Linked DNA regions of Homo sapiens: regions 1, 2 and 3 are each linked to region 4. Evidence: promoter capture Hi-C in 16 types of primary human blood cells and fetal thymus (Javierre and others, 2016). All regions are on one chromosome and are shown on one strand. Each heading gives the region's core, a stretch centred on a gene start or on the middle of the fragment in contact. The rest is flanking DNA. Distances are from core to core; before and after follow the strand shown. Region 1 overlaps REV3L (REV3 like, DNA directed polymerase zeta catalytic subunit). Region 2 has its middle 16 kb from the start of REV3L. Region 3 overlaps TRAF3IP2 (TRAF3 interacting protein 2). Region 4 holds the start of FYN (FYN proto-oncogene, Src family tyrosine kinase).

Region 1 (5,700 bases), core at 209-2,708, 390 kb after region 4:
CTGGGAAATCGAGGCGATGAAGTGTTCTATAAGATAGGTTTTCTGCCCTTTTAAATATAGTGGTGCTGTCTTTGTTTCCAATTGGAATTTCAGTGTAATGCACTGTTCTCACTTCAGATGCAGAGGAAGGATAAAATAGTGAAGTTGATATGGCCCTGTTCAGCCAAATTTCCGAATCATAAAGTGACATGCTAATAGGATATACTGTGGCATTTCTGTGTATTACAGCTTGTATGGTTTGAGTTACTTTTCCACACATAATTTTTTCTCCTCCACACAAGTCATTAAATATGTTTTCCTGAGAGATAGTCAAGCTTTGTTGTATAGGAAAGTTTCGTTTGTGGAAATAAATGAGTTTCACTGTAAGCTAATGTAATTCTATTACGTGAGGAAATGTTCCTTAAAAAATAAAGAATATTATATACTGTTGTTTTCCTGAATATTTTTTAAAAGACACATTAACTATTTCCTATTTAATCCTTCATGGACATCCCACAATAGATTACCAGCACCTTAAAAAAAAAAAAAAAAACAAAAACGAAAAAACCAAAGACTAAAAACCCCCATTGGGGTTTTTTTTTTGGTACATACTTTGAAATTTATATTTTAAATGAATTAAAAAGTAACACTTTTTATATGTACATTGAAAGACATAAAACTTGATACAGAGAAAGTCAAATTTTAAATTGTTAAGGATTATCAAATTGAATTTGCCATGTAGTTCACAGTTTCCAACAAAATGTTTGTTTCAACAAGAAAAAATTTGAAGTCATTGGCATACATTTAGAGTTTACACTTTTCATAAACCAAGCCAGCATTTTTATTAGCACGTCAGAAACTCCCAGTGAGATTAATATTAATTAAACATAATCAAAAACTGCAGAATTACCTGCTTTTGAATTATCTCCCCAAGGAAAACTAGTCCAATAAAATAAAACTTGAAAATTATTAATATAAAAGAGAGGCCAGTCTGACTTAGTAAAACTCTGAATGCTAGAATTTTTAATGAAGACAGATTTATTTGAAAGTAAAGATGTAAACATAATGCAAAGATATAAACATGGTTTGTATTATATCTTTATAGTTTATATCTTTACTAACAAGTAAAATAAGGTAATAAAAATGTGTAACACATGATAAACCTATGCTACATAAAATAGCATAAACATACTTTTTTCATATATAAGAATTACTTTGGGAGGTCCTTAATGCTTTACTTTGGTTTGGAGAGAAAATGTTTTAAAATTGACTTTGCTTTACAAATGAGATCCTGAAAAATAGCAACCAAAGATATTTTTTCTCAAATGAAGTGGCCGTTTCAAAATTATATTACAAATTCTGAACTGATTGGATTAATACCCTTTTACTAGTTTAGTTTTTCTATTATTGCCTGAAAAGCATTTTTCTGCTTTAGAAAACAGTCCAGTTGACTTTTGATTGTTCTGTGTTTTGAGGACGTATCTTGAGTAATTTAAGAAATAAAGTGTTTTGGGTTTAAAAGCTCCCATGTCTTAAGTTGGTGAAATTTGAAAAGGTATTTTTAAAAAGAGGGATATTCAGGGCTGGGTGCTGTGGCTCATGCCTGTAATCCCAACACTTTGGAAGACAGAGGCAGGAGGATCGCTTGAACCCAGGAGTTGGAGACCAGCCTGGGCGACATAGTCTGTACAAAACAAACAAACAAACAAACAAAATTGGCTGGGCGTGGTGGTGTGCACCTGTAGTACTAGCTATTTGGAAAGCTGAGACAGGAGAATCGCTTCAGCCCAGAAGGTTGAGGCTGCAGTGAGCCAAGATCACGCCACTGCACTCCAGCCTGGGCAACAGAGCAAGAGCCTGTCTTAAAAAAAAAAAAAAAAAAGGCGGGGGGGGATATTCAGATTTGAATGGTAAATCCTGACTGATTTAATCCCTTGCCAACTGAGGATATTGATTCCTAAGGGAATCACTTAAAGTTTCTTCATCTGAGTTATGGAATTTTTTAAAAAACAAAAACAAATTTCCTCTCCATTTTTTTAACTAGTTTTTAAAATGTCTTGAACATTATTTTGACATAATCAAATTGAGCAGTATCATTTGTAGAATAAATTGTTAATTTTTTCTTTTAGAACAACATTTTGGTAACTTGTTTTAATGGAGGGAAGAAAGGTTGTGAATAAAGTATAGGACAATGTTTTTTCATTTAGATTTGAATATAGGTGTGACCACTCAGAGGATTCACTACAAATGAAATCATCAGGCTTCATTTAAGGATTTGACTGAGGTGGACTTGGGAAGCTGTCCATTTTCCACATCTCGACTTTTGCTTAGTTGCTTGATGTAACTCACTTCATGCTGAGTTTAGACAGCTCTCACAGTTTCCTCAGCACCAGGTTAAACAGAACTATCCTTTCAAAGAGCTTCCCTGCTGAGATGCAGAGTAGGAGTAAATAGAAGAGTGTGGGATGTCCACAAAGCAAGGAATTAAACAAAGTAGGCCAGACAGACTATAGAGGGAGCTGCTTGTCTTTAAGATTACTCTAAGGAACTCTGCCACTTCCTCTAGCTTAGTGAATATTTTGGTAGATTGTTCTAGATACTGTTAGCCATGAAATCAAGCTTTTCAACATAAGGAATTGATAATTCTGAAATGCTATATAAGTTTATGTAGATGCTTATCCAATTATAAATATATTCTCATTGTTTATATTTTATAAAATTAAATATAAGAAACTACCAGAATAACCTTTTTTTTTTTTTTTGGTAAATTGGAGTTAAATTTGCAATAAGAATAATTTTGAAAATTAGCGTGTATCAACAACTCAGGTTCAAAAGTTTCTCTAATAGAATCTGCTTTGTTCATAGTCTGTTTTTTACTAAGCTATTTAAAAATATTTTAAGATCATATAACACCTATTTGATTACAATTATTGGAGAGATTTTCAGGAACGCTATGGAGATGTAATGACTCATCACAAACAAATTGGTCACTTTTTTTAAAGTAGGTATTTGAAGCCCTGAGTAGCAAGTTGTTTTAGCTTTAAGTGCCTTAAGAACAGCTTTACTCTCCAGAAGCTCACAATGTAGTAGAGATGATGGGCATGTAAACGTAAGTCAAATGCAGTATGACTGGACTATAGAAATGTGTATAAGACAAAGCAAGGATTCATTGGGAGACATGTTCTATATCCAGGCAAAAAGGGGAGTCAGGGAAGACTTCGTGAAGGAAATATGGATTAGTCATGTTAAAGGAATTTTTAAGGAACTTAAAATTTCAGATAGAGGAACAGCTACAAGGTAATTGACAGATGAAGACAACTGCTCTTTGCAGGGCAGTTTGGCAATGTATATTAGAATCCTTGAAGTGTTCTTTTTTGACCCAGTAATTCTAGTTTTAGGGATTTTAATCTATGAGCATAAATCTTTTGGCAAATCTGGTTGTCTTTTGAATCCGTCTACTTCTTTTCATAATCCATCACCACCCTAAACTACTAGCATTTTTGGTCAGGTTTACTACAGTAGCCTCCTAATCTTGGTTTATCCCAATCTACTTTGTCCCCTTCTGATCTGTTTCCTACACTGTAATCAGAGGGATCTTTTAAAAATGCAAACCTGATTACATCACCCTACTGTTTGATATGCTTCAGTAGCTTTCCATTGCATTCAGGATATGGACAGAACTCTGTGTCTTATATGGTGGCATCTGCCTGTCTTACAAGGTCTTGCATAGTCTGGCCCTTACCTTTCTGTCTAGTCATGACTTGAGCCATGTTCTTGACTTACTCTTTTTGTTCCAGCCTTGTTGGCCTTATCTCAGTCCCTTGTTCTTGCCATGCTCCTTCCCACAGTGAGGGCTTTGTACCTGCCGTTGCCCCTGCTGAGAATGTTTTTACTTTTCTTTCACCTAAACTTCGATTTATCTTTCCTCAGGGAAGGCTTCCCTATCACAGACTCTCAGAGCACCATGAACTCTCCTCATAGCACTTGCTGTCATTGTAATTTCATATGTGTTGGAGATTAACATCTGTTTTTCCAAATAGATTGTAACCTCCAGAAATCCTGATAATGTGTTTCTTTTTCCTCACCATTATAGAGTTAATGCTTACCACAGTGCTTGAAACTCGTCTATTAATTCTTGGAACTCATTTGTGGCAAGGATTAATAAATAGATGATAATCATCACAGAGAACAACTCTAAGTGTTCAACAATTGGCAAATGGTTGCATAAACTGGGTATATTCATTTGGGAGGATGTGTTTAAAACATGTTGTAGAAGTATGTGTAATAACATGGGAAAGTGCTGTCATATTATGTGAAAAAATTAGTTTACAAAATAGTCACTTATTAAAAGTGTGGAAAAAAATACACCGAAGTATAAAAGTTGGTTATCTCTGGAAGGTATGTTTTATATTTTCAGATTTTTTACAGATAACATGTGCTGATTTTATAATTTAAAAAAACCATGTACAAAATTAAGGAAAAATTGATTTTCTAGATATGGTTCCAGAAATGTAGTGGGAGACATGAGATTCGTAATGGTCTCCAAAATATGTGTCAACCAAAATGCATGATTGCATGATGATCATATTGAACTTAATTATATAAATTCCATTTAGAAATTGCAAAATGATTCATAAATTAAAGCAAGCCAGTAATTTCTGGTTGTATTATTCTTACTTGTATGTAAAGTGGTTTTAATTTTAAAATGTTTTGAAAAGTAACATGGTTTTGGCACATGACAGCACTAAAACAGAGTAAAGACTAGAATTAACTTAAATATATATGAGAGCTTAATATAGGTTGAGCATCCCTTATCTAAAACTCCATAATCTGAAATCCTTCAAAATCTGAAATGTTTTGAACACCAACATGATGCCACAAGTAGAAAATTCCACACCTGACCTCATGATGGGTCGCAGTCAAAACTTCGTTTCAGGCTGGATGCAGTGGCTCATGTCTGTAATCCCAACACTTTGGGAGGCTAAGGTGGGAGGATTGCTTCAGCCCAGGAGTTCAAGACCAGCCTGGGCAACATGGAAAGACGCTATCTCTACAAAAAAATACAAAAGTTAGCCAGGCAGGGTGGTACACGTTTGTGGTTCCAGCTACTTGGGAGGCTGAGGCAGGAGGATCGCTTGAGCCCAGGAGGTGAAGGCTGCAGTGAGCCATGATTGTATGACTGCATTCCAGCCTGGGTGACAGAGCAAGTCCCTGTCTCAAAAACAATCAAAACAACTTTGTTTCATGTGTAACATTATTTAAAATTATATAAAATTACATTCAGGTTTGGTCCCATCCTCAGGATATCTCATGTATGTGCAAATATTCTAAAATCTGAAACACTTCTGGTCCCAAGCATTTCAGATAAGGGGTATTCAACTTGTATATGAAAATGGATCCCACCTTCATTTATGAGTAGGGAAAAGAAGAATTGTTTAATAAACAGTGTTGGGATAGCCAGTTAGTCATCTGGAAAAATAATGTTGGCTTCCAGAGGAGTTAAAGATTTAAATATGAAACAAAGAAACAAAAAAGGTAGGGTAATTATTTTTTACGTAATCCAGGATTGGTGAAGTCCTTTAATAGCATACTGGGTTGCTGGATTTTAGGACATAAAAATAAAATTCTGTACAGGGGAAAAAATCAAACAAAGTTAAAAGAGAAACAGACTAGTAAAACTTATTTGTATACTTCACAAAGGGCTAAGTTCCTCTTAATACA
Region 2 (5,705 bases), core at 2,121-4,620, 370 kb after region 4:
TTCCGAACTTTTTCTAGGACTAAATCCCTGAATATACCCATCTATCCCTTTATAGATTACTTTACCATGGATTTATTTAAAATTCATCCGAAGTAGGGTTGCCATATAAAATACAGGATGCCTAGTTAAATTTGAATTTACAATAATAAAGAAAAATTTTAGTTTAAAGTTATGTCCCAAATATAGAAACACGTAAATAGTATTTAAGATAACAAAAAATACCAAATGTACCGAGCCAAATATTGCATGAGACATACTTAAATACTAAAAAAAATTGTTCATCTAAAATTCAATTTTAACTGGGCATCTTGGATTTTAATTTGTTAAATTTAATCCAATCAAATTCCCTTCTTTCCATTCCCAGAAGTATCTTTTCTGTTTTCAAAGGTTAATTCTCTGAACTTTTATTTGTCTTTCTCCTTACTTCTCTTTCTTCCTCATTCTACATATTCCTTCTTTGTACTTTCAAGCATGTTCGGGTCATCTCTACTGTGTGTTGTTTTGAGACAGGGTCTTGCTTTGCTGCCTCCCATGCTAGAGTGCAATGGTGCAATCATAGCTCACTGAAGCCTCAAATTCCTGGGCTCAAACAATCCTCCCGCCTCAGCCTTCCCAGTAGGTGGGACTACAAGCACGTGCCATCACACCTGGCTAATTTTAAATTTTTTTTGGAGAGACAGGGTCTCCCTATGTTGCCCAGACTGGTCTCAAACTCCTGGGCCCTCCCATCTCGGCCTCTCAAAGTGTTGGGATTATAAGCAAGAGTCACCACTCCTGGCCTCCTACTGTGGTATTAAGCGTCCCAATTCTTCATCCCTCTATGAATCCATGCCCTTTGCCATGTCACTTTGCAAGTTCTCTAAAGAGGAGAATTCTGTTTCTCTGCTCCTTGAATACGGGCTTGGCCACATAAATTGCTTTGGTCACTAGAATGAGGGAGAAGTGCTAGTGTCAGTTTGGAGTCCATGTGTTTGTGTTTGCCGCCACCCCCAATTTTTTTTTCTTTTTTTGGGAGAGTCTCACTCTGTCGCCCAGGCTGGAGTGCAGTGGCGCAAACAGGTTCAGGTGATTCTCCTGCCTCAGCCTCCCGAGCAGCTGGGACTACAGGCATGTGCCACCACACCCGGCTACGTTTTGTATTTTTAGTAGAGACGGGGTTTTACCATTTTGGCCAGGCTGGTCTCGAACTCCTGACCTCAGGTGATCCGCCCGCCTCGGCCTCCTAAAGTGCTGGGATTATAGGTGTGAGCCACCGCGCCCAGCCTCTGTTTGCCCTCTTCAACACTTCTTCCATCTTCATGAGAAAGATATGCCTAAGTGAGCTGGACAGTCACAGAAGGAGGATGATAGGTAAGTGTCCAGCCTAGAGCAAAGCTCCCAGTAGGTCTGCTGATGTATGAGCAAGCCCAGCTGGGAGGAGCCAACCCTCAGACATGTGAGCTATAATAATAATTATTGTCTTAAGCCACTTTAGAGTGTTTGTTATACAGCAAAACCTAAATGATGCATCTACCCTGAAAAACCTCATCCTGACCATATTATTCTAAGTCCCTTTGTTGTATTCCCAAACTGCTGCAAAAAGTATCCTTTAGTTTTTGCTTGTATTCCTTTGCATTTACTCTTATCTGTACCACTTCTCTTTTAACTGACACCAAAATTCTCCTAATGGTCAGTCTTACAGCTTTGGCATGATCCTCATCCATGCTGGCCTCTGTACAGCACCTGACACTATAGGTCATTTCATACCACTGTTAAATTTCTCCCGCTTTTATTGTACTCCACTAGTTTTTATTTCTTTGATTGTTCCATTTACTTCAAGGGCTCATCTTCTCTCTTCCACTCTTCTAGGGAGTTTATTCATTCTCTCAAGAGTGACTGTTATGTATCTGACTTACACATCTTTATTTCTACTCCTAATCTCTATTTCAAGCTCTAGTTCAGTTGGTCCTCAAACTGCAGTGTGCATCAGAATCACTTGGACGGCTTGTTAATATTCAGATTGCTGGGGCCTCACTCCCAGTTTCCTATTCAGTAAGTCTGGGATGGGACCTGTTAATTTTCATTTTTAGTAAGTTCCCAGGTGATGCTGATGCTGCATCAGTGACCACACCTTGAGAACCACACTTCTAGTTCCATATTTCCAACTCCCTAACAGTTTTCTCCTAGTTATCCATAAGTGCTTCAAATATCACATACAATGTCAATTAGGGTAGTTTTTGTTTTGTTTTGTGTTGTTTTTAATACTGTAACCACTAGTAACTAACAGTCTAACTAATGCAAAAGAAAGATTTATCAGGAAGCTCACTAAAGACTGCAGAACCATGTTCCAAATAAAAAGATAACCAGAAACTAGACTACTTGACAGTAGGAGCATTACCCCTAAGTCTGAAGTAAACTGAGTGTTTGTTGTTTTTGAATCCCTCAGTTCAAAAGTCAATTCCAAATGAGAGTCACCTATCTATCCCTTCGTTGTACCAAGGGAGAGACAGAAAGGATTATGGTGGAAGTAGCCACCAAGGACTCCTTTTCTTTCACATTGTCTTAGTTCAGGCCCTCTTAATTAAGCAGGTAGATTACTACGACAGCCTCTTAACTAGTTTTCTTGCCCCTAACATAACCTCCAATTCATTCTCCACATCATCTTCAGTTATCTCTTTAAGACACATGTCATTTTCTTCTTTGCCTTATCTGGTGCAGTATTCATGTCTTATCTTGTTTTAAGTAATAAATTGCTTTTCTCCATATACAAGTGGTTGCAATATTTTTGCCTTAGCTGACACAAAAAATGGAAAAGCAGTTTGAGAGGGTAGGAAACACAGCCCATTGTAAACTGAGGATCTAATCACCTAGTAATCAGGCAAGAGTCAGAAGCAGAGTACCAAATTTTGGATAGAGACCCCTCAAGGAGGCTTTAAGATATCAAGTCTCTCACTAGACTGAAAACTCCCTCATGGCAAGGATCTAGTTCTCACTCTTTCCCCAGCACCTAGCTCAGCACCTCACAAATAACAAGATTTAATGACATGAAGAAAGTCATCTCCAGACCCTCCCCTACTTTAAATTACTAGCTTACAGTCTCTGCCTGCATATCACCTCACCACCAAATCCTTCCTACATACCACTGCTAAATCAAGCCAATTATCATTTCATTTCCTGCTCAAAACCTTCTGACTGTCCAATACATGCTCGCCAACTCTAAACTCTTCACCATTCAAAGCCTTCCAGAACTTGGTTCTAACCAATTTTTCTAAGCTTTCTTCCACTCCTCATTACACTGTCAGTCTGGATAAATAAGGTTTAACATAACATTTTTCCTGTTCTTGTTGGTTCCAGTTTTTGTAGTATCTGTCTTCCATGATGTCTCCCCTATCTTACCGTCAAAATCTAGTTAAGATGCCACCTGTCAGTGACCTACCACTCTAGGTTATTGGTAACGTATCCTCGTACCCTATGCTCCTTAATTACTTAAGGATCTATTTGAAGCTTTTGTTAATTACTGTCCTGTTCGTATATATAACTTCTAGTAGTTGAACACATACTATCTTAAATTATAATTATGTAGTTGTATTATTTGTCCTACCAGATTTTAAGAGACTTAAGAGCTTTCTGCCACTAATCTTCTATATCCCCAGAAACTTCTGTAGTGCCTTATACATAGTGGGCAATAAGTAAAATCTGTTAAAAAGATGAATAAATGGATGTTTATAATACAGCACTAGTGTTTGGGGCTGGTCCCTTGAGGTAGCCAGCCTGTGACTGTGCCAGGGATTTCTGAGCTGCTGAAATCAGAGGGTAATAAATCCTGGCAGCTTGGAACTGGATGGTGAGTCTAAATCAAAGATCATCAGGTTGAATGGAGATTCAAATGCCAGGAACAAGCATCAAGTGAAAAGGTCCAAAAGACAGAACCTGAGATGAAATGTAGAGCAAAGGGTATGGAATCAGGCAGAGACACAGTAAAGGCAACAGTCGTCATAACATATTGATGAGGATCTGAATGGTGGACTTTGGAGCGGGGGCCATGCAGTGCACTCATCAAGGTGAGTGGTTTGTTGGTAAAATAATCACCTAAAAATTGGAAGTTAGGTTGGCATCCAATTATCATCTCTAGCAAAGAAACACATATATGAAAATAAAAAATTTATAATAGCAAATATAGAGAAATTAAATAGAACCTGCTTTGAGAGGTGGATTTCATTTGAGCTTCATTTTGTTGCTTCTGCCCTGTCACCTTAATTTGTTTCACACATTTGCACAAGTTCACATACAAGTTGTATTTTTTGATTCCTTTATATTATGGAAAAAGAAAAACACATTTTAAAAGAGATAACATCACAGCACCCAACATCAATACAAAAACTCAGAACTTATTTTTACTGTATTTTTTAGATTTTTAATCTTTCAGCGAAGCTGCAATAACAGTGTACATAATAACCACTGATTTTTCTACATGAACTGTTCACAGACTAGAAAATTCTGAGATTTTATAAAAGTTTAAAAATCCTTAAAAATGTTTAAAAAACCCTAATTATGAGAAGTACATATTCTGTTATCAAAAATCCTAAAAAGTTTAATTCCAACAGCTACCTTGCCCTATAAAACATTTGTTTGCCTGTCAATCTGTGAGGTTGGATCGAGCAACTCTGTCCCACACAGCGTTTTCTTGTACTCATTAGTAGTAAGCATTGTGGCAAAGACTAATGTCCTCATGAAAAAGACAGCAAAATTCACTTTAAGTTCTTCTGTACAGGTGCAATAGTCCTCTGAATAAATTGTAAAAATTAAAAAAAAATTTTTTTTTGACACGATCTCACTCTGTTTCCCAGGCTGGAGTGCAGCGGTGTGATCATGGCTCACTGCAGCCTTGATCTCCTGGGCTCAAGCAATCCTTCCACCTCAGCCTCCCCAGTAGCTGGGACCACAGGTGCACACCACCACACCTGGCTAGTTTTTTTATTATTATTTATGGAGATAGAGTCTCACTATGTTGTCCAGGCTGGTCTCAAACTCCTGGCTTCAAGGGATTCTCCCACCTCAGCCTCCCAAAGTGCTGAGATTACAGATGTAAGCCACCATACCTGGCCGGAATTTTGTTATTTTGATTTAAATGCTGAATGAAGTAAGTTTTAAAGCCTATATTATTCTTCCTGATATAACTGACAGAAGGATAAGTTCTCATATTAGGTTCTTTAAAAGTTAATATATTTGGTGGCAACACAGAAGAATAGGAAGATCGCTTACCAAGGAGGTAGGTAACCTGGATCTCACTTACTCTATGGGGTCTTAGGCAAGTCATTTACTTTCTCTGAGTCTCAATTTCTTCATTATAAAATCTAAAGACTTGGATTATTTCAATGGTCTTGACAGGAAGACTGCACTGGAATTGCCTGTGGGCATTCTGACTTGGTAGATATGAGAAGAAAGGGCCTAGATAAATGTATCTTTACAACGTCTCATAAATGATTCTGATGCATATTACTGGTTAAGAACCAATGGTATAAATAATTTCTTGGGTTATTTGAAATTCTAAGAATCTACTTTTTACATCCAATCAACGGAATTTTTAAAACTCCTACCTTTCACTATTACATCATTCTTCTTGATGAATAAGTATATTTTAGGAAATGGAGAAGCTGCCTCTAAATTGTGAATAGCTTACTGTTATTGAGTGCTTAGCAGTCTAAGGTGTTAACTCATTTAATATA
Region 3 (5,903 bases), core at 735-3,234, 290 kb after region 4:
ACTCTCAATAAACTACTTCCGAAATAATAATATGTATCAGTGCAGGAAGCATCTCTGAAAGTGATAAGTCTTAGGTTGAGATAAAAGGTTCTATCACCATTTTTTTTTTCCTACTACCATTCTTGATGTTAAATCTCCGCTGAGGCCACTGGAAAATAACAAAAGGGCTTTACAGATGAAACACAGGGCTGTGAGGCCTGATATTTTTCTTAGCAAATAAACACTGGACAGAAAGTAGTTCAGAGTGTAAGAAGTGCCTGACCAAAGGCCTGATGCGCAGCTTTAAAATAAATTATAGAAATAATTACAAATGCTGTAATCAACCATAATTTACATATTAGTACATGTATACTAAGTATAAAGCTTCCTAAAGTGAAGAGAGCAACACAGTAATTCATAACTCAAAAAAGAAAAAAACAAAGAGGAGATAGAGAAATGTAACTTAGAAGATGCTTGGAAGAAATAGGTAAGAATGAGTGTGAGATCAGGAATGAGGGCAGGGGCTGGGGAAGCAGGAGGGTGTAAGGAGAATGGGGCCTTGGGCTGGAGCGGGAGAAAGAGCCTCTGATGCCTAAAACTGGGACGTGGTGTATAAATGCTGGGAAGTCAACAGAGTGGGAGTGCATGGATGCCACCCCTGCTCTAAGCGCCCAGTCATAGGGTGGGTGTGGTGGTGGATTCCCTTAAGTATGAATCACTGAGAACTGAATGTTGGCAAGGTCAAGGCTGTATTTCTCAGTGATTGCCAGGTTTAAAAGGAGTAATTTGTGAGAATAATACCATAAACTACTTTTTAACATTCTGTTATCTGTATTTAAAGGTAAGTTTTCACCAGGCACGGTGGCTCACCCCACTTTGTAATCCCAGCACTTTGGGAGGCCAAGGTGGGTGGATCACTTGAGATCAGAAGTTTGAGACTAGCCTGGCCAACATGGTGAAACACTGTCTCTGCTAAAAATACAAAAAGAATTAGCCAGTTGTTGTGGCGGGCGCCTGTAATCCCAGCTACTCGGGAGACTGAGGCACAAGAATTGCCTGAACCTGGGAGGCAGAGGTTACAGTGAGCCGAGACTGCACCTGGGCGATGACACAGTGAGACTCCATCTCAAAAAAAAAAAAAAAAAAGATAATTTTTCTGATCATTATAATATTTGGTCACTCCCAAAATTAAAATATGCCCAGAAGTTCAAAAAAGAAAAGAAAAAGTTTTCATATTTCTGCCACCCAAATAGAATTCCTTATTAGGGTTTTGACATATCAATTTTCAGTGTTTTTTTCTTTGCATATATTTTTAATCTAAAATTAAAATAGTTTTCAGTGACATTGAGTACTTATTCCAGAATCATTTAAAACTGCTTCATTGTATTTCATCAGACGCATCTACCAAATTGTTATGAACCTATTCTTTATTGTTGGACATTTAAAATAGTTTCCAGTTTTCTGATCCAATAAGCAATGCTATGGCAAGCATTGCATACATATGTTTTTAACTGCACTTCCGATTAACTCCTTAGATTAATGCGAAGAACTGTGAATACTTAAGGCTTTGTGATACAGTCCCAAGCAGCTGACTCTGACTACTAACAAGGGAAAGCCTCATTGTGATAGACAAAAAAAGCACTGACTCAATGTTATAATGAAGGTCCCAGGACCTTCTGGAAAATACTTCCCACGGAAAATACTTTTCCTGTTGTTGGAGCTGAAACAGCGCCATTGGCAATCCAGTCTTTGGAGGTGAGCGTTGTCCCATTGGGGCAGGCTCCTTTAAAAGGCAAACACTCCTGACTGGGAACACTTTTTGTCCCTATTGCCCCAGGACCTGCTTTCTTTCATCATTTCACCATCCCCTTGCTCTCTGTATTATTTCCTTCTGTTAGGGGGTTGGGGAGAGACATCTAGGATCCTTGGGGCGAAAAGAGGTGTTGAAAGGCAGAGGGGAGAGAATGGGGATAGGAGAGGGGAATAATTCACAGAAGATACACAAATAGCCAATATGAAAATTAAACCAAGCTCAATATCATTAGATTTAAGAAGTGCAAAATTCTTAAAGATACCTTTTCCTTGATTAGTTGTGCAAAAATAAAAACTTTGGACAACATCCAGTGTTAGTGGAGTTAGAGAGAAATGAATATTCCCAATCACTCTTGATAGGAGTGTAAATTGGTGCAATCTCCCAGAAGGCAATTTCACTATCACAGTTTTATATGTGCTTCCTCTTTGGCCCAGCAGTTTCACTTATAGGAATCTGTCCTATAGAAACATTAAACAAGCATATACAAATACAAGAACAAGAATGTTTATTAAAGCATTGTTGCATTAGAGTAAAAACAAAAACAATTACAATGCCTATCAATAAGGGGCCAGATAAGTCATTTGTGATTTATGTATACTATGGACTACTAGGCCCATGTTGCACTGAATACACATTCTGACATCAAAAAGATTAAGTTGAAAGGCAAGAGCTGCAGTGATGATCCCATCCATGTTTATTTTTTAAAAACTATATAGGTTTATATATACATATTAAGTCTAGAAGGATCTAGTGGTGATCTTGGTGGGGAGGGGAGCAGGGAATTAAGAGGAGACAGGTATATTTTCCTTCTAATTTCATATACTTTTGTTGATTTTTAAAAATAGCAAACGGCCGGGTGCAGTGGCTCACACCTGTAATCCCAACACCTTGGGAGGCAGAGGAGGGCAGATCACTTGAGGTCAGGAGTTCAAGACCAGCCTGGCCAATATGGTGAAATGTTGTCTACTAAAAATACAAAAATTAGCCAGCCATGGTGGTGGGCACCTGTAATCCCAGCTACTCGGGGAGGCTGAGGCATGAGAATCACTTGAACCCGGAAGGTGGAGGTTGCAGTGAGCTGAGATCGCGCCACTGCACTCCAGCCTGGTCAACAGAATGAGACTCAGTCTTAAAAACAAAAACAAAAACACATAGAAAACATAAAAATAAAAATAGCAAACAGGTATTACTTCTATAATTAAGAAATGAGTAAAAACTGAAAAGAACAAAGGGAAACAGCACATATAGAAGGCAAGCTCGCCCCAATTCACCTTGCATGTCCCTTGGCCCTGGCTCCCATCTAACCACAGAGAAGAGGGTCAGGGTTGCCAGTGCTGATGGGTTTTTTGCAGGGCATTGTAGCCCTAGAATATTTATGAGGCCTCCAGCAGCAATGAGTCCCACGAAGGTTGCTGTGAGGATTAAATGAGATAATGTATTAAAGGCACTAGGAAAGTGGCTGGCTGGTGGTAAGCCCTCAATACTAACAGCTTTTAGTTATTATTGTTATTATTTAAAAGCATCCTGTAGCCCAGTTCTGCAGGGTGCTCCTCTACTTCCAGATCCCACTCACTGGCACAGATTTTAAGCATTCATGGCAGGTGTACAAATGCTTAGTTTCATGTCAGGGCTATAACTGCACTTAATTGCTAACAAAACCACTTCAAAAGAGCTGTTCACCTAAGGGATGCTTGTGCAGTTGGAAACCATGGCTACGTGGCTCTACTCAGCTTTAGAAGAGCATTACTTCCTTACCCATTAATGAATATATAAATAAATAATGATCACCATGCAAATGGCATATCTAAGCTTTTTGCAAGTTAAAGCAAAAATGGTTATTGGTCGCCCCTTTCATGTAAAAAAAAAAAGTTTTCAAAGTAGGTGGAAATAAGAAAGGGAATAAGTCTACGTTTTCTCCTCACCCCACCCCCTGGAGAAGTCGGCCTCCTGCTGCCTCCGAATCCTTCCACTGAAGGTCGCCAGCATGGAGTTCATGGCTGTGCAATCAAATGAAACTCATGATGCAAATATATTGGGAAAAGAGAGAGAATTAAGTCTAGAGAGCCCTCATTTTATTATAAAATTATTGCTTTCTCTACCAAGGAGACTGAATAGAATAAAATTACAGGTACATGTGTACAATTGTACCTGTGGACCAAAAAAAAAAAAGGGGAGGGATTATTTGTATGCTAGAATGCATGCACAAAAAATAAACCAGATGGAAGAAATGATAAAGAAGGAGTTGCCTTTCAGGAACGACAGCTGCTTACAGCTGTGGGAGTTCCTGCAACAGTTTATATTGGCCATTTTGTTTCCTGGCTAAACTGATTGCATTATATCACGATTTTTTTTGACAACTTGAAAATCAGATTTTATTTCTCTCTCATAAACTCTTTTAATTCTTAATAAGGAAGAAAAATGTTGCATGTTGTGACTGATAAATGGAAAACCTCATTTAGGATTTGGTTTACATATTCCAAATGGTAAAAGCTCAGTAACATGAAGATCGTGTGTACTCAGGCCAAGAAGATCACAGGATTGACAAATAACATACAGTCCTGGGCGCCCATTTGTGATTGTGCAAGATTTTCATTTTTGCTTTGTGATTAACACTGCCTCTGAACTGAGGAGTTACCATGCTAGCAAATCATTTGTCTATCACATCATCCACCTTCCCTCTCCTACAGAATTAACTCTCTTGATGGAACTGTAGGCATTGGGGACAAGTCCGCAGGGAAGCTATTTCTGAACAGGGATTCTCAAGTAGGTGGCTGTCGACTCATATGTCTCCCCTTCTCACACACTAACTAGTGTGGGTTTGTGTTTAAAAACAGACACCCACAGACACATAGATTTTCTCTTTCTCTCTCCATTTATTTTGAGCTAATCCCAAGGGAACTGTATCCTATTTATCTTTGTTCACCAAGTGCCTGGCCATCGAGGTTCAATAAATATTTGTTGAATGAATAAAAAGAAATCTGTTCTCTACTTCCTGGGGAAAGGAGTGAGCCTTAATCATGAGTAGAGTCTTTGTAATGTGAAGCCTTGGAAAAGCCATTTTTTTTTTTTTGGCCTGGGAGGGAAGCAAAGAAGGGAGTCAATGAAATTTGGAAACAGAACCTGTCCATCCACTTATCAATTTATTCAGCAAATAGTTATACACCGTCCTTGTTTTCATGGAATTCACAGTCTACTGGAGAGATGGATAAGAAGTAGAAGTCAGAAACAGAATGACAAATTATAAGTGCTATAAGGGAAGTAACTGGTTGTTGGAACAGACATTAATAGACAGGTTGACCAGAGAATCTCTTTAAGTAGACATCTGAGCTGAAACCTAAAGGATGAGAAGGTCAAGGAAGCAAGGAGCTAAGGAAGCAAGGAGCTTGATGTCATTAAGATACCAAAAGCAAGTCAGTGGGGCCTAGCAGAGTGAGCAAGGAGAGAATGGTGTGCTAGAAGATGAAGGCTGGATGGGCCATGGTGAGGAATCTGGATTTTTATTCTGAGTTAAACTTCTTTATGAAAATGGAAAATTGAACTCTATAATTCTCAATATGGAACTTAGAACAGTACTTGACATGTAGCAAGTGATCAATAAATGTTAGCCATTATTTTACATGTATAGTACCCAAGTAAATTGGCAAGCCTTCGTCATAGTAATTGGAAAAAAATGATTAAAACTTTAGCAGTGAAATGATGGTCATTTACTTGATAAACATAGTTTTTATTTAGCAACTTTTCTTGTTTCTTTTTTTTTTTTGGTATTTTTTTGTAGAGATGGGATTTCACCTTGTTGCTCAGGCTGGTCTTAAACTCCTGGGCTCAAGAGATCCACCCACCTAGGCCTCCCAAAGTGCTAGGATTACAGGCGTGTCCAGCCTATTTAGGAACCTTTTCCATACAACCAGTCAAATTCCAGACAAAGCTGGTCAGATTCCACTTACAAAAGGGAACACTCATTTCTTACTGATCCACTGATACTCAGTTTTCCTTTGTTTTCAACAATAAAAGGACAGCATGGAGGACTATATTGTCAGTACCCTAATTTTAAAAATTGATGAGGTGTATCATTTTCATCTGCTCACATAAACTGGCATAACTTTTTACCACA
Region 4 (5,687 bases), core at 614-3,113:
TGCAGTAGCCAAATTTCCAATACTGAAGTACATTTCAAGTACTTAACAGTCATGTGGCTAGTGGCTACCTCCTCGGACAGCCCAATTCTAGAACTATGGTCCTCAAGGTGCTGTCTCCAGATTGGCTGTATCAACATCACCTGGGAACTTGCTAAATGTGCAAATTCTTGGGCACCATCCCAAACCCCCTAAATCAGAACCTCAGGTGGTTAAACACAGCAATTCATGTTTAAGCAAGCCCCTTCAGTTATTTCTGATACATGTCAAAGTTTGAGAACCATTGCTCTACCCAACTGCCTCTGCATCCCAATCCAAATAAACCCAGAGCAGCCATTGCGGACTAGCCCTGAGGACGAAGAGCCTCTGCTCTTGAGATAAGCAATTCTTGGCTAAATGAAGCTGGCTTTCTCTTGTATGGAAATATCCTAGTCCTAGCTATGGTTCCATTTCTTGGGATTATGGAATTTCCAGACACAATTTAAACATGGTTTAATTTGTCATTTTGTTTAAGGAAAAGGAAAAAAATCCAGTAACCTCTGTATACTGTCACCTTGAGTTAGTTACTTAACTTTTCTTTTCCTCAGTTTCCTCCTCCATAGGATGCAGATCATTTAATAAATGTTAGCAACTTTTCTTAAAAAGTAGTGTGTACAAAAAGAAAAAAGTCAGCAAAAGGGACAGATTTTTTTAAACTACAGTAAAAACAAGTAGTGGGCCGGAAAGGCAATATTATAGATTTTGAGCACAGAAGCAGAAGCTGATTCACTTATAATTTCTTAGAACATTAGATTTGCTGAGGGGGAAGGTAGGGTTCTTGCCAAAATCATTAAGGAGAGCGATTCTGAGTATGCCTTAAAGCAGAACTTTCAGTAAACAGGAATTACCTATAAAGAAAATCAGGAAGCCAAAGTGTTTCTTTTTATGAAGTTACATCCTGCCATAGAAAAGCTGGATAGGAAATAAAGACCGATGCACTCCCAACTGTATACTAAACCGGCAATTATTTCATCAAGGGAAATATGAGCAAAAGCTCAGATTCAGTGAAGGGGAAAAAAACATGAGAAGTTTGAATGTTATGAGAAACCAAAGACAACCAATGACTACAATTAAACGAGGTTTTTTGGGGGTGGGGCGGGGAATGTACGAACAAATCTCTGTCATTTCAGGTTCCTTAGTCGCCGCTTGGCCCCTCCCCCTATTTCAGTAATACTTCCTCCAGACTTTTGCTAGAAAAAAAATATAAATGAGTGTCCGCAGAAATAGGGGACTGATAAAATGATCCTAATCTCCTTCTCCTCCTCATTGTTATTTGTTGTGCGTTTCCACGTTTCAGGACAGGATTCTACTTTGCTCCGTACTCTTTTCAGTTTGATCAAAGAAAACGCTGCTATCACCGCCCAATTTTCCATTTCATCCTCTCACCCTCAAATGAAAAGACACCAGAAAGGCAAGATAGCCCTGTCTCGAGGCAGTTTCCCATGGTTTTGGGGGAATGGCAGGTGCCAATCTGCAGCAGCAGCTGCAACCTTCCGCAAAGCGGAAACTGCAGTTCACACTCTCCGCTCTTTCTCCCGCCCTACTCCGCCACCTCACAACTCCACACAATCCTTAAAAACACACAGACCTCCTCCTCCAACCTCGCATTTTCTTGCACACCCTGCACCGCACGCACCCTGGGATGCCCGCTGCCACAGTAACGCTCAACCCACTCGGCGGCCCCACCTACTGCCGTCCCGCCCACGCCCCAGGCGCCAATGGTTGCGGCTCGCAGCTCCCAAGGGGCTCTTTGATAGGGCAGCCGGGCCTGTCACTCTCGAGGCGCGCCCCGCCCCCTCCTCGCTCCCCTCCGGAGCTGGAGGGGCAGAGCATCAGCAAGAGTAGCAGCGAGCAGCCGCGCTGGTGGCGGCGGCGCGTCGTTGCAGTTGCGCCATCTGTCAGGAGCGGAGCCGGCGAGGAGGGGGCTGCCGCGGGCGAGGAGGAGGGGTCGCCGCGAGCCGAAGGCCTTCGAGACCCGCCCGCCGCCCGGCGGCGAGAGTAGAGGCGAGGTTGTTGTGCGAGCGGCGCGTCCTCTCCCGCCCGGGCGCGCCGCGCTTCTCCCAGCGCACCGAGGACCGCCCGGGCGCACACAAAGCCGCCGCCCGCGCCGCACCGCCCGGCGGCCGCCGCCCGCGCCAGGGAGGGATTCGGCCGCCGGGCCGGGGACACCCCGGCGCCGCCCCCTCGGTGCTCTCGGAAGGCCCACCGGCTCCCGGGCCCGCCGGGGACCCCCCGGAGCCGCCTCGGCCGCGCCGGAGGAGGGCGGGGAGAGGACCATGTGAGTGGGCTCCGGAGCCTCAGCGCCGCGCAGGTAAGCAGGCGGCGGGGATGCGTCGCGGGAGGCCTCGGGGATGCTGCGGAGAAGCCCGGCCGCCGGCGCCCCCGCGCACGCCGCCCCCGCCGCAGGGCCCGGTGCTGCGGTCCCTTGGCCGCCAGGGCGCTCCGCGGGGCTGCCGGGGAGTCGGTGCTTGGGGTCTTCCCGCGGTTGCACCGGAGGACACCCCTGCGGGGTGCGGCCCCGAGGCAGCGCGGGGATGGGGACCCCATTTCCTCGCCCGCAAGCGGGCGCCGGGTGAAAATGGGAATTGGCTTGGGGGCGAGGCTGGCCCAGACTCCGCCCCCGCCCTCCTTTTGGGGCCCCCCGCGGGGACTGGGGCTGTGTGTGTTGTTTTAATGTCAGGGATGATGTAATCACTTAATAATTGATGCCCCGTGCTGCTTCCCTCCCCACCCAACCCCTGCCCCACTCCTCCACCTCTCGGCCTCCTCCCTCGGCGGCGGTCGCCTTCTCCAACCCATCCTCCTGCCTATTTCTGGCACCTCCCTTGCACTTCCCCCATCCTCCCCTTCACTCTTCCTGTGCCACCACCCACCCACCCTTCCCCTTTCCCCTGTGCTGGAGCCTTCCCTCCTCTTCCTCTGTCCCCCACCCCTCTGCTCCCTCCAGCTCTTTTCTCCTTCCTTTCCGGCTCCCTCGCTGGATTTCCTCTCTACTTCCCTAGATCCATGGCTGTTTTTGTTTGGGCTCCTCCCCTCTGTTATCTCTGCGGCCACAGGCGGAGGGGACTGGGCCAGAAGGAGGCCACCGAGCTTGGGCCCAGCAGAGATGTGCTGGGACTCACTGGGAAGAGGGATAATAAAATCACCCTTCTTGCCCCTCCTTCCCCCAATAAATCACACAGACTCGCCGGGTGTGTGAGTGTGAGTGTGACACAAAGAGCCCTTTCAGTGCATAGAGAGGAGACACACAAAGTACCCTAGGATAGGCACGATGCTTCTTGTCTCTCTTCCCTGGGGCTTCCCTTTCTTTCCCATGAAGCAGTTGATCTCTCTGAGTCTTTCCTGCCACATTTACCAAAAAATAAAAGAACCCCCGGATGCCGGGTGGCAGGTGTCGGCATTTTGCTGTGTTCAGAGACCGGTAGTGTTGACTGGCAGCTGCAGTGTTTCTTAGATTTAAGGGAACAGTTATCCCAGCAGTCTTAAGAGTTGCTTTACTTTTAAGGTAGCCTCCCCATCCCCTCGTTCTTTCCCCTGTCCTTTTGGGAACAAGTACTAAGAGCTGGGGTAGAGTAGATTGGTGTGGGGGTCACAAGAATTTTGTTTCTGAATCAGAATTAAATTGTTATTTGATAAGAGGGAGGCAGCCTGAATGGCTTCTTCTCTCAAGTCTAAGAGGGCACTGTACTGAAGTCTTTTGAAATGAAATCCTGTCTGCCCAGTGATGTTGTTTTACCCTTTTATTGAAGTAAATACCTGGGGACGTGGATAAAACGGTCTAGAGTTAGCATTTGGAAGACCACTGCAGACTGCCTCTTGCCTGCTTCAAGGTAGTCTTGGGACGCCTACTTCCTTTCTCACCACCCAAGCAACTGCAATACTTTCCACCCTATGTACTGTCTTCTTCCCCAGTCCCTGCTCCATGGGTACCCTGTATTCAGATGAAGGGACTCACAGACTTTTGGAGGAAGTGGTTTAACTATCTGAGGCTTTGAGGCCACTTGGCTATGAACTGGGGCTGTAGAGAATCTTGACTGAAGTCTAAACCATTTGATGTTCCCTTTAAGGAAGAAATGTTAATGTAAATCTGGGGGCTTAATGTTCCGTTTTGTAAGCCAGTGACTATTACATGCTTAATCGATATTGTCAAAACTTAAGTTGAACCTGTTCTTTCCTAAAAGTATGGCTCCTCGACTATTTTTATAAGTAACAGAACTGTAGGTTTAGTCTTCAGTAATTTTATTAGAAAAGAGTTATGATTCATTAAATATTTACTTACACACTTTTTAAGAACATTCATCGTGGAACTTTTTACGATAAAAAAAGCAATAGGGTTAATGAGTGTACTGTAAAAACAAAGGGTCGTTTGTTTGATGCCAGACCCAGGAAGGAAAGCCAGAGCACATAAACTCACACTCTGTTGACCAAGTTTAAGAGACTTAATGATAAGGTTGAATGTGAGCAAATGCACACTCTGCTTTCTCCTGGGTCTGGAATCTCCAACCCCATCTGACTTGCTCGAAGTCCTTTTTAACCTTTGGGGCCCAGCTCAAATGTCATCTCCTCTGTGAAGCCGTTTCCATCTTCTCCTTTCCAAACAAATCATCATGTTTTGGTTTCAAACTTTGGCAGCAGGCATTATGTTTCGCATGAGTCTATTTCCACCATTAATTGGTCAGCACATTGATAAAAGGAACCTTATCTTACTTATCTTGTTTCCTACCAAGTTTTATCTTAGCGGGTATTCTGTTTCATTTAACATTAAACAAATGTGAGTTAGGTCTTTGGTATGTGCTCAACACCTGTATCAATTAGGCTAATGTTAGCAGGTGTAACAAATAGGCCTGCAAATATATAATGGCTCAAAAGCAATAGACGTTTATTCTTGCTCATTTAATAGTCAAAAATTCATGTTTCTGGTCGGTAGGTGGCTTTCCTCCATGCAGTGACTCTGGGTCCCACACCCCTATCTTGTAGCTCCACCATCCCATAGCTTATCATCGTAACCTGTTTCAGTTTACAGAAGGGGCAACAGAGAGTAGACGGGGCACACCCACTTTTAAAATACCTTAGCCTGGAAGTGCCACCATCACTTCCTCTCACATTCTTTACTTGAGGGCTAGTTATATGGCCACATTTAATTGCAAGGGAGCCTGGGAAATGTAGTTTAGCCATGTGCTCAGAAAAAAGATACAGAATAAATGTATTTTTATTGAACAGCTTTGTCAAACACTGCCACTTATCAAGGCACATTCACTGCCCTCAAGAAACTTATAGGCTAATGGGAATTAAATAGAAACCTAGAGCGGACACCCGTCATTGCTTTTCTTTTGATTTTATAAGTTTAGATCTTTTCATCCTAAGCATGTTTCAAAAATCTTACTTTTTGTCATGTTTCAAATTTTATGTTTCAAATGTTGCCAATTCCTACTCAATAATCCCATGTGATACAATCATCTGATGCTTCCTGTGTTGACTTTGATGTGGTTCTTTTACTCCAAAAGCACCTTTCTTGGCTTCATTTTTCATCTGGTCATTCTGTAGACTCCCAAAGTTGCTAGGAGAGTCCTTAGAAATCACACTCCTTCTGGATGTTGCAGCTCACGCCTGTAATCCCAGCACTTTGGGAGGCTGAGGTGGGTGGATCACTT

What was found. Contacts are between HindIII fragments. The CHiCAGO score rates a contact against its expected background, and 5 or more counts as called.
Region 1: a fragment that was not itself captured here is called in contact with the fragment with the promoter of FYN in region 4 in 3 of 17 cell types (non-activated CD4 T cells, naive CD4 T cells and activated CD4 T cells); the score reaches 9.3 in non-activated CD4 T cells.
Region 2: a contact is called between a fragment that was not itself captured here and the fragment with the promoter of FYN in region 4, in 2 of 17 cell types (total CD4 T cells and activated CD4 T cells). The highest score is 5.9, in total CD4 T cells.
Region 3: a fragment that was not itself captured here is called in contact with the fragment with the promoter of FYN in region 4 in 2 of 17 cell types (non-activated CD4 T cells and activated CD4 T cells); the score reaches 6.6 in non-activated CD4 T cells.

Annotation. Positions count from the first base shown.
Region 1 is chr6:111,475,671-111,481,370 of GRCh38, reverse strand. The region is part of intron 1 of REV3L (REV3 like, DNA directed polymerase zeta catalytic subunit); the gene reads left to right. Among named protein-coding and RNA genes, the nearest start is that of REV3L, 4.7 kb to the left of the region's middle. RefSeq lists enhancers at 2,005-2,729, 3,327-4,219. The HindIII fragment of the contact is 2,284 bases long and covers 317-2,600 here.
Region 2 is chr6:111,496,450-111,502,154 of GRCh38, reverse strand. It overlaps TRAF3IP2-AS1. Among named protein-coding and RNA genes, the nearest start is that of REV3L, 16 kb to the right of the region's middle. The HindIII fragment of the contact is 231 bases long and covers 3,255-3,485 here.
Region 3 is chr6:111,584,294-111,590,196 of GRCh38, reverse strand. The region is part of intron 2 of TRAF3IP2 (TRAF3 interacting protein 2); the gene reads left to right. It also overlaps TRAF3IP2-AS1. Among named protein-coding and RNA genes, the nearest start is that of TRAF3IP2, 19 kb to the left of the region's middle. The HindIII fragment of the contact is 3,238 bases long and covers 366-3,603 here.
Region 4 is chr6:111,869,628-111,875,314 of GRCh38, reverse strand. FYN (FYN proto-oncogene, Src family tyrosine kinase) reads left to right here and starts at 1,863. Exons shown (of 14, transcript NM_002037.5): 1 at 1,863-2,347. LOC102724646 (a long non-coding RNA gene) reads right to left here and starts at 1,863. Exons shown (of 3, transcript NR_168402.1): 1 at 1,625-1,863. RefSeq lists silencers at 1,734-1,823, 1,944-2,193, 2,344-2,743 and an enhancer at 1,792-2,291. The HindIII fragment of the contact is 15,284 bases long and covers 1-5,687 here.